2 separate regions of the Homo sapiens genome follow, and region 2 is linked to region 1. Evidence: promoter capture Hi-C in 16 types of primary human blood cells and fetal thymus (Javierre and others, 2016). All regions are on one chromosome and are shown on one strand. The core of a region is centred on a gene start or on the middle of the fragment in contact, and the rest is flanking DNA. Distances in the headings are between cores, read along the strand shown. Region 1 holds the start of PRSS12 (serine protease 12). Region 2 holds the start of LOC105377384 (a long non-coding RNA gene).

Evidence for each region. Contacts are between HindIII fragments. The CHiCAGO score rates a contact against its expected background, and 5 or more counts as called.
Region 2: a contact is called between a fragment that was not itself captured here and the fragment with the promoter of PRSS12 in region 1, in 2 of 17 cell types (M0 macrophages and M2 macrophages). The highest score is 5.5, in M0 macrophages.

What each region holds. Positions count from the first base shown.
Region 1 is chr4:118,350,101-118,354,787 of GRCh38, forward strand. PRSS12 (serine protease 12) reads right to left here and starts at 2,903. Exons shown (of 13, transcript NM_003619.4): 1 at 2,119-2,903. The coding sequence starts at 2,620. RefSeq lists an enhancer at 2,648-3,493 and silencers at 2,760-2,839, 2,870-3,129. The HindIII fragment of the contact is 7,140 bases long and covers 1-3,709 here.
Region 2 is chr4:116,343,066-116,347,497 of GRCh38, forward strand. LOC105377384 (a long non-coding RNA gene) reads left to right here and starts at 1,031. Exons shown (of 3, transcript XR_939097.3): 1 at 1,031-1,072. The HindIII fragment of the contact is 1,004 bases long and covers 2,633-3,636 here.

The sequences.
Region 1 (4,687 bases), core at 1,653-4,152:
CTAGCTACTATGATCAGGCCAGGTTGTTTTGCGTACATGCTCAGCGCTGCAAAGGTCTTTTAAATTAATTTACTCAAAACTTGCGTTTCTCCTGATGAGGAAACCAAAGCTCTAAGAGTTAAGAGTCTTACCCAACAGTGCACAGCTACTGGCAGAGCCAAAACAGACACCAGTGTTTTCTAAAGCACAATTCAATATTCTTTTCACCACTCCATGATACTTTTGTTCACACCCCTAATTGAAATGTAGGACCAAGAGAGCCGTAACGTTCAGAATATGCCACTCATCTCAAAGCTATAGGTTATGCCCAAGCAGACTGGAGAAGTAAATGATAGAATGAGATTGAGTCTGTGAAAGTAATTCATTATTACACAGTTGATCGTTTTCCTATTTTTTTGTGGTGGTGGGAAGGGCATTTATCTCCCATCTTGAGTGGTTTCTTTTGTTTCTCTTTTGTTCAATCACTTTACTCCAGGAAGTACAAATAACTATTATGCAGTATTTGGGATTTTGTCTGGTGAGAGTTAGCTAGGAACATAAAGGCATTCAAAAGATTTACATTTCTAGTCAACTGAAGAAGGTGAGGTGGCAGGAAATCCAAGGACAAGTTACTCTCCATGTCTGAAACATAAGGCTGAGTTATGTCAGAAAGAGAGCAACAGATCACTATCATTTTTTAACTTTAAATTACTTTTCTTGAGTCTGTGCTTATGTACTTAAAGAGAAGTTGTATATTCTCTCCTACACATTCATTCTCTAATAATTCTCTGCTCTTATCTATTTATAAAACTAAGAATAATATGAAGATGAAAAAAGTCAATGTTTGCTAAACCTAAGATTTTACTATAATCTCTTATGGTGAATAACGAGACAATGCTAGCACTCTTTGTTTGACATCACCTCAAATTTTTTATAGCTACATTGGCATTCTGTTCATGAAACACAAGTAAAGCGATGACTTCATTCCCGAGGATAAAGGATAATTGATCTTAACCTTCCTATCACTTTTCCTTAACTCAAAGCACTAATGCAATTGAAGGTACTGATAAATAAAATTTCTCCAGGAAATGAATGACATTGTGACAGATAACCTCCAAGTTACCTCCAAAAAGTACAAAGTACAATATGATTCAGAATCTCAATTCAGGAAACCCTTGCCCCACAGTGTGAATGGAAAGCTGCCAAAAATATTTTGTTGAAAAGAAATTCAAACTTTGAGGATATTTTTTCTTCCTCAGTTTTTAAACAAAAAAAAAAACCTAATTTCAACAAAATCCCAACAATTCAAAATGAAGCAATGTTCAAAGCTGGATTATTCATTTACATTAAATTTATTAGTGTGATGCTTTTATTACCACAAACCTAAAACATTTTGCCACCTTTATCTCCTGATGTTACCAACTAATCCTGATAAAACATATAAAGCTAAGTAATGGCTCTGGAAAACTGTGTATAACTATATTAAGTTGCTACTTCACCAAGATAGTAGTATTCCCATCTCTTTTCCCTTTCTTTTTTTCCAGTCACTGATGATACTTACCATACTGAGCTGGAGTATGTGAATATGGCTGATTTTGGCCACATAATTTTGCCATACTTTTTAAAACAGAGGTCAACAGCTAAATTAAGGCAAAATTTTACCACATTTTTAAAAATCGGAGTCTAAAGAATGGAGGGAAGGTTATTGATTGCCACGTTAATGTAACATTTCCCTTTCCAGAACAAGTAATTATGCCTCTTTAATGTAAATATGGTAACCCACTCAACGTAAGCTAATCTAGAGAACAGACGCCCAAAGCACACTGTCACCCAATACACGAGCGCACACACACACACAGTGGCCAGAGGACAGAGCAAATTCAGAAACCCAGAGCTCAGCACCTTGCATAGAACTGTCACCCCTGACAACCTTCACACAAGCACACCTGGCTGGCTTAGATTTGCAGCACCAGTATACCTTACTGGTAACCCAGCTGCAGCCCACCATCACAGCCCGCAAACGCAAGCCCACAACCCCACACACCCCGTCACTTTTTCCAAGAGACCTGTACGCCGGCCCCAAGCCTCACTGGCTCCGAGCCCGTCCGGAGTTTCCGCGGCCGCCCCGAGGCCACTAACCGTGTCTGCAGTCGCAGTAGCCCCAGTCCACCTTGCCACGGGCGTCTCCGTAGAAACACCAGGGTCTGCCCGCGCCGTCGGGGCTCCGACAAAAGTTGTGGCGCTGTCCTCGCAGCTGAGCCCAGCTCGCTGGGGGCGACCGCTCCAGGAAGGGTGGCACCTCCGCCCACCGCAGACACGGGGCGCCGAAGTCCGTCACGCTGACCCATGGCTCGCCGGCGGGGCAGCCCCAGGGGTGCGGCCGGGGCGTGTGCCCGGCCTGGAGGGCGTGCGGGCGCTGGGCAGGGAGCGCCCGCGGGGGGCGCGGGAAGCGCGGGAGAGGCGGCGGCGGACGCGTCCTCGGGGGCCGCTGCTGGGTGGGAAGGTAATAGGGGTAGTGCGGACCCGCAGGGGGCGAATGGCGGTGGCTGTGGTGGAGGGAATCATTGAGGACAGAATCAAAGCCGACCACTTCGGGGAGCGCCCCTAACATCAGGGCTAGCACGAAGCGGGCGAGCGTCATGGTGCCAGCGCTGCGGGGTCTGGTCCATGCTCCCCAGCTTCTCGGGCTTGGAGCGGAGAAGAGGAGGGGGCGGGGGCGGGGCTGCCGCGTCCCTCGAATCCCCCAGCCCCCTCCCGCCCCCGCACGCGGACCGCCCTCGCCTCCCCAACCTTGCCTCCCGCCGCTGGTGCCCTGCCGCGCCTCGGCTCCTGTCCCCTGGCGGCGGCCGCGGGTGGGGAAATCTGGAGCTCAGCCGAGCCCCGGCCGGCGGAGAGGACCGGAAAAGAGAAGGCGCGGACGCAGCGGGGAGCGGTTGGGCCTGAGCCCCAGGTAGCGGCGCAGGCACGAGCCCGGGAACTCTGCCCCCTGGGGGCGGGCGCCGGCCGCGCAAGCTGCTCCGGACCTACGCTCGGCCCCTGCCAGGCCCACCGCAGTCCGCCCGCACGGCACTGCCAGCTGCTGGGACCGAGCCCGAGGGTGCCCGCGCGGAGCACGGTCTTGGCTGCCCCTTGCCAGCATGCAGCACCAGCACAGCCCGGCGTTGGCGGCTCCCAAATCTGGCACCGGCCCCTGCCGTCATCTCTCCTCCAACCTCGTCGCCCCGTATCTTGCTTCCTCTGTTTTGAAATCTTTACCAAAGTATGGATGGATTTAGATGCAGCTCTTCCCTGACAACTCCCAGGATAAAAGTTATCAAAACCCACGAGGAATGTTAAAGCCATTTCACTGAACTATACGCTCTTCAAGGACAAGACCACGTTTTATTCAGCTTGATATCACCGTGCTTAACACCGTGCCCCAATAAACATTGGCTGAAATTAAAATCCTGAACCGACTCAGGGAAAGGAGCTTGAGCCTTTCTGCTTCCTGCCTCCCACTTTCCAGCCGGTGCCCTGGACAACACCAGTTGTTTGGTTATTATTGGGATTCAGTGAGGCTCTCTTAATACCAAATTTCCTCTCTAACCAGAGAAGACTTCATCCGTCCCGGTTTCCATCCTATCCAAAAAGTCCACCCCCCTAGCACCTGCCTCGTTTTTTGCAGGGCAAGGGACTTCTGTTAAGCCTATTCATTTGCCTCTCCAGAGACTCTGCCTGCTGACAATTTTGAAGCTTCACTGTTGGCTCGACCTCAGCTTAGTAGGGCCCTTTCAACACTCCTCGCCCCCCTCCCGCAGGCTCCAAAAAACTGTTGGCTTAGAATCTTAAAAAAAAAAAGTTACTGGAGCTGTATGTTTTAGTATTTTGCCTTTCAGTTGTTTCTGACTATGCTACCAAAGTTTGACAAGGAGAAGGAAGCCCGTAAAGAAGGCAACATTTTATTTTCTGGCATGGTCACGTTTCGTTGTGAAAAAGCAATGCTGTCTCATAATATAATGTACCCTGAAGAAAACTTGAACAAAATTCAAATGTTTATTGTTAAAACCTAGGTTTCAATTAGGAACTGAATTAATTCACTACTAGCTTTAAATAAGCCATCTTTAGCCGGGCGAGGTGGCTCACACCTGTAATCCCAGCAGTTTGGGACGCCCAGGCAGGCGGATCACATGAGGCCAGGAGTTCGAGAACAGCGTCGCCAACATGATGAAACCCGCCTTTACTAAAAATACAAAAAGCCGGGGGAGTGTTGGCGCACGCCTGTAATTCCAGCTACTTGGGAGGCTGAGCCAGGAAAATCGCTTGAACCTGGGAGCAGAGGTTGCAGTGAGCCGAGATCGTGCCACTGCACTCCAGCCTGGGCGACAGAGGGAGACGTTGTCTCAAGAAAAAAAAAAAAAATCCATCTTTAATTTTGTGGGTCGTTTTATTGTTTTTTGTTTCACTCCTATTAATGAAATATTTGATTTTACTTTAGAGAGAATTGGGTAAAAGAAATGATGTTAAGAGTCCAGGGATGTATTTGTCAAATCTTTATTCAAGTTGTTTTCATTCCAGTTGTTTTTACCCATTATTTTTTTACTAATACTTTTCTGGCTCCAAAAGCATAGTTAAATCTATACTTGTGGAAGACAATGAAAGATAAAATATATATCTGGAGTAGTCTATTTGTTCATTTTAGTGAGGGTTGGCAGAGCTCATCAATCACAGA
Region 2 (4,432 bases), core at 1,885-4,384, 2.0 Mb before region 1:
TTCTTTCTCTTTTCTAAATAAATTAGGTAGTACTTCCAGAAAATATTTGAGAAAAGTAGTTAAATGCTTGTCTTATTGCTGACTTTATAGAAAATGTTTCTACTGTTCAATCATTTTGTATACATCTACAAATATATACTTTTATATATTTATCATATCACATATATTTTATGTAACATTTTTAGAATGTTGAGTGAATGTAGTTTAATTCCTTTATTATATAGTCTTTTAAATTCAATTCACATGAACTATCACATGATTTTCACCAAATGCAGAAGTGACTATACAATTTTTTTTTCTTAGCCGTTAATGTGGAGTCCTAGCTTTTATACATTTATTATTCTTTAAATGTGAGGTTAGGTTGTGTTTCTAATATTTTATTTGGATATCATATAAATATAACTTAATGCAATTGATTCTTAGTATTTTTTTGCAAAACCTCGACCTTTTAAAAAAAATTCAAATCATATAGTAGATTCATAGCAAATAATTTGTTTTTCTTTTTTATGATTTAGAATAATTTCAAAATACACTTGAATTAAATAGTCCACATTTTTATTTAGATATAAAAGAAACAACGTATTTGAGGTTTCAAGTACTCTTAAAACATATTTAAATTATTTTTTCTTAAAGAAACCAAGAGAAGCATCCACAGTAAACATCTACCTCCAGAAGATGAATAAATAAACTAGAACAAAAACTGGATTCTTCTTTATATTTATTGAATAATTTAAAAGACATGATATTGATAGCATAGTTTTAATGTCATAATTTCAAACTCTGAAAATACTTTAATTTCACTACATACTTTAACTTACTTTTTCTACCTTTTTTTTTTTTTCCCCAGACAGAATCTTACTCTGTTACGCCCAGGCTGGAGTGCAGTGGCGTGATCTCAGCTCACTGCAAACTGTTTCCTGAGTAGTTGGAATTTCAGGCTCATGCCACAATGACTGGCTAATTTTTGTATTTTTAGCAGAGACCAAGTTTCCTCATGTTGGCCAGCCTGGTCTCAAACTTCTGGCCTCAAGTGATCTGCCCTCTTCAGCCTCCCAAAGTGGTGGGACTACAGGTGTGAGCCTAGCCAATTTTTTGCTATGTATTTTAAATGTCATGTTATTTTTTGCATGTGGTTGCCTGCTATATTTAACAGTCAATTTGTAATCTTGCTGTGTCTCTCTTCTCAATGGCCTATTATAGGATGCATCTATTGTTTGCTTTTACTAAAAATTCAGTGTGAAAGTCTATTTTAATATCATAGTTGACACAAATTTTTAACTATTTTTAGATTATATATTTTTTATTTTTTGTCTTTTATTGTTTTTGAGGTTAAGATAATTATTTATAAGAATAAATGTAACAATATTTAAAAAACATTCTTAAACCTGTCTTATATCAACATGAAAATAAATGACATTTTGGCCACCAAAAAGGAATTTAACATATTTTATATCTTTGATTTTAGGTCTCCTCTGTCTACTGAAGACAAAGTCTTAATTTCAAAAATCAAAGTGCAAAATATCTCTCATAACTTTGCCGGCTTCTAATCTCTAGTCTTACCTACTGCCTTTTCTCCATTTAATTACTTTTTTCCTACAGTCTAATTGAATTTCTTTTTCAACAAATTGTTTCTTTTCTTTAGACTTTTACATGTGTTATTTCCCCTTGAATTGGACAAAATATACAAGACTTCTTAAACTACTTTATGTATTCTTATATTTCTCAAATCCAGTTTAAATACTACATCCACTTGAAGGCCTTCTTTAACCTTTACTTTGATCTGACTGTCCTCCACTATGTTCCCATATTTTGATCTTATTTTTAAAAATCATTAATCACATTGTTTTGGTTTTGTTAAATTGTATAAAAATCCCTGATGGAAATTTAAAATTCTCTCAGACAAATCGTGAGTTGTACTTCTTTTCAACTCCACACTTAGTATCATTTTTTTTTTATTTCAGAAGGCTTTTAATAAATATGTATTATTTAGGAACATTTCTGACAGCTTTTCCCACATTTACTAACCTCATTATAATCCTTCTGCAGAAATGGATCTTAACCTAGAATCCTCAAACTTAAAAAAATATGGGAGCCATCAGCAAGTTCACAGGAAAATTTTTGGAAAATAAACTCTGTATCTGAAGAGAATGTCTCCTCATGTATCTGTAAAAAGAATCCATTACTCTAAAATATTCAGAAAGATCAGTATATATTTATTATGTAGAAACTGCTTTCAAGAGATTGATTGTTGAGGAATTTTTCCATGGAAATCATAAATGTATTTTCACTGGGTTCTACTGTAGTTGTGTAAACCAACAGGTCCTTCAACAAGAGTTCTTCAGAAATCATATACTTACGTAAAAGGAAAAAACATTACTTATGTAAAATAAACATAGTCTACTCTGTTTCAGTATATAACCTCACAATAAGAATTGATCTATATGCTAAGTAGGCTAATTCTTCAATATAATTTGGAAGTGTCATTGATGTATGCACATAAAACTCATATCACCAAGGTCCACTGAATACTAAGTGTATTAACATAGGCAAGAGGAAAGAATACCAGGTAGAATTATCTTTTACCCCCATGATCTTCCCCTTGGTTGAGCCTGACCTCATCCTCTGCATTAAAAGCTTATTTACAGTTCTCTCTCATAATGATGGTGGTGAGTCAAATAAAAGACAAGGAGCCAGAGTCCTCTGTCTGCAGTGCCACTATAATTCACCTGTAATTCACGTAGAGCTCTCACCTGCATCTTCACCTGCAACTTCTACATATAGTTTCCTTCTGTCTTGTTTACAAAACTCAGCTGTTTTATGCCTTTCTTACCTTCCTTTACATCAAATAACTCACATTTTGTTTTGTAAAGGCCAACATTTATTGTAACATTTCTTCTTGTGTTAGAGTTTTATTTGCATAGGTATTGTTTTTGTTAGTACTCTGGATAAAAAGTGCAATGAGTCCATTTCGATTTTTATTTGGAGATATATTTTTACAACGATTGTTTTCCACAGATGCATATATAGTGTTAGAGTGTGAACCTCTCTCTTTATATAATTTTAATAGGTTTGATTTAAAAGCTCTAGAACAAGTTTCATGAAGCAAATGTCACAAAATATATAATATAGTTTAAAATGTTTTTAAAATTACATACATACATTGATTTCCGGACATTATAATTTATTTATAACAACAAGTGATGGGTACTAAAATTTACTAAATATATGTAAACTCACTTAATAAACAACAAACGTGCTTGCTTGCTACTTTTCCATACATTAATCACATGGTCATGATACAAGGGAATTTGAGAATAACAAGGTAAAAATCACCAGAAATTCATTCTAATTGTTACAGAGTATTGACCCATCATATTTCATACATTAGAGAATGAAATTTTAATTTTACTTAATTTATGTTATTAGGTGTTTTATTTTTTAACAAGTTTAAGTTGTAGGATATAGGTTTTTAAAAGATAGGTGAAAAGCAAATACAGACTATGGCCACCAAATCAATAGACCTTTAAAAACCAATTAGTTCTTCAAATATATACCAAATGGACAAGGTACACATTAATATGAAAGTCATAAGTAAGAAAAGTAAATAGAAAAAGGAAAGTAATTGCTTTTCAGTGAAGCTTTAAAAAGAATAAACCAAAGCAGTCAGGAAGAAAATCCTGTGGCTTACAAAATGATTTGCCATTGCAACGGTTAATTTCTAGTTTATAATGGGTTTTATTTCCACACTTTTGCAGTAATACATTCATTTCATGCCCAATTTATACCAGAGTTGGCCAGAGAATCCCTTATAGAGATAAGGCAGTTATATTTCATCTTATCTTCTGAGCTATATCAGCATAACATTCTGTAACACTGGAAGATACTAACACAATGTACCAATAAAATGTAGGCAAGATCAGTTTTATCTCTCTAATGGAGAAAAGACTGTTGATTTAATAACACATGTAGCTTTCAATCTACTCAGCTAGCATAGCTGTATTGTGTTAGTCAGTTTGACTCATTTCTCAAAATTTTGAATGGCACTTGTTTTTGCTTATATACATCACTAAATTATTCAAAACTGATTATGTATATGGAAGTATACTTTAAAAAGTGGGACATTAGCAAGCAAACTTCACTTTTCTTTTTGATGTACTTCATTACATTTCAGCTTTTAAAGGGAGAAAAAAACTAAAAAGTATATAGCCAAAATATTTAAATTTTGTAATATCAAAATTGTAATAATTATACTAGGGAAAACATTTAATTTAGGAAAACAAAGCTTGCATGTGATAATAATCATATGAAATCTAGTTAGTATGTTTTGGTAATCTTGATTAACAAAAGTTTACATAAGCTTTTATAGAATGCAGGCATATTTGAGACTCCTACTGTCATTTTTTTAGTTACAAAGGGTAGATGAGAAATAATA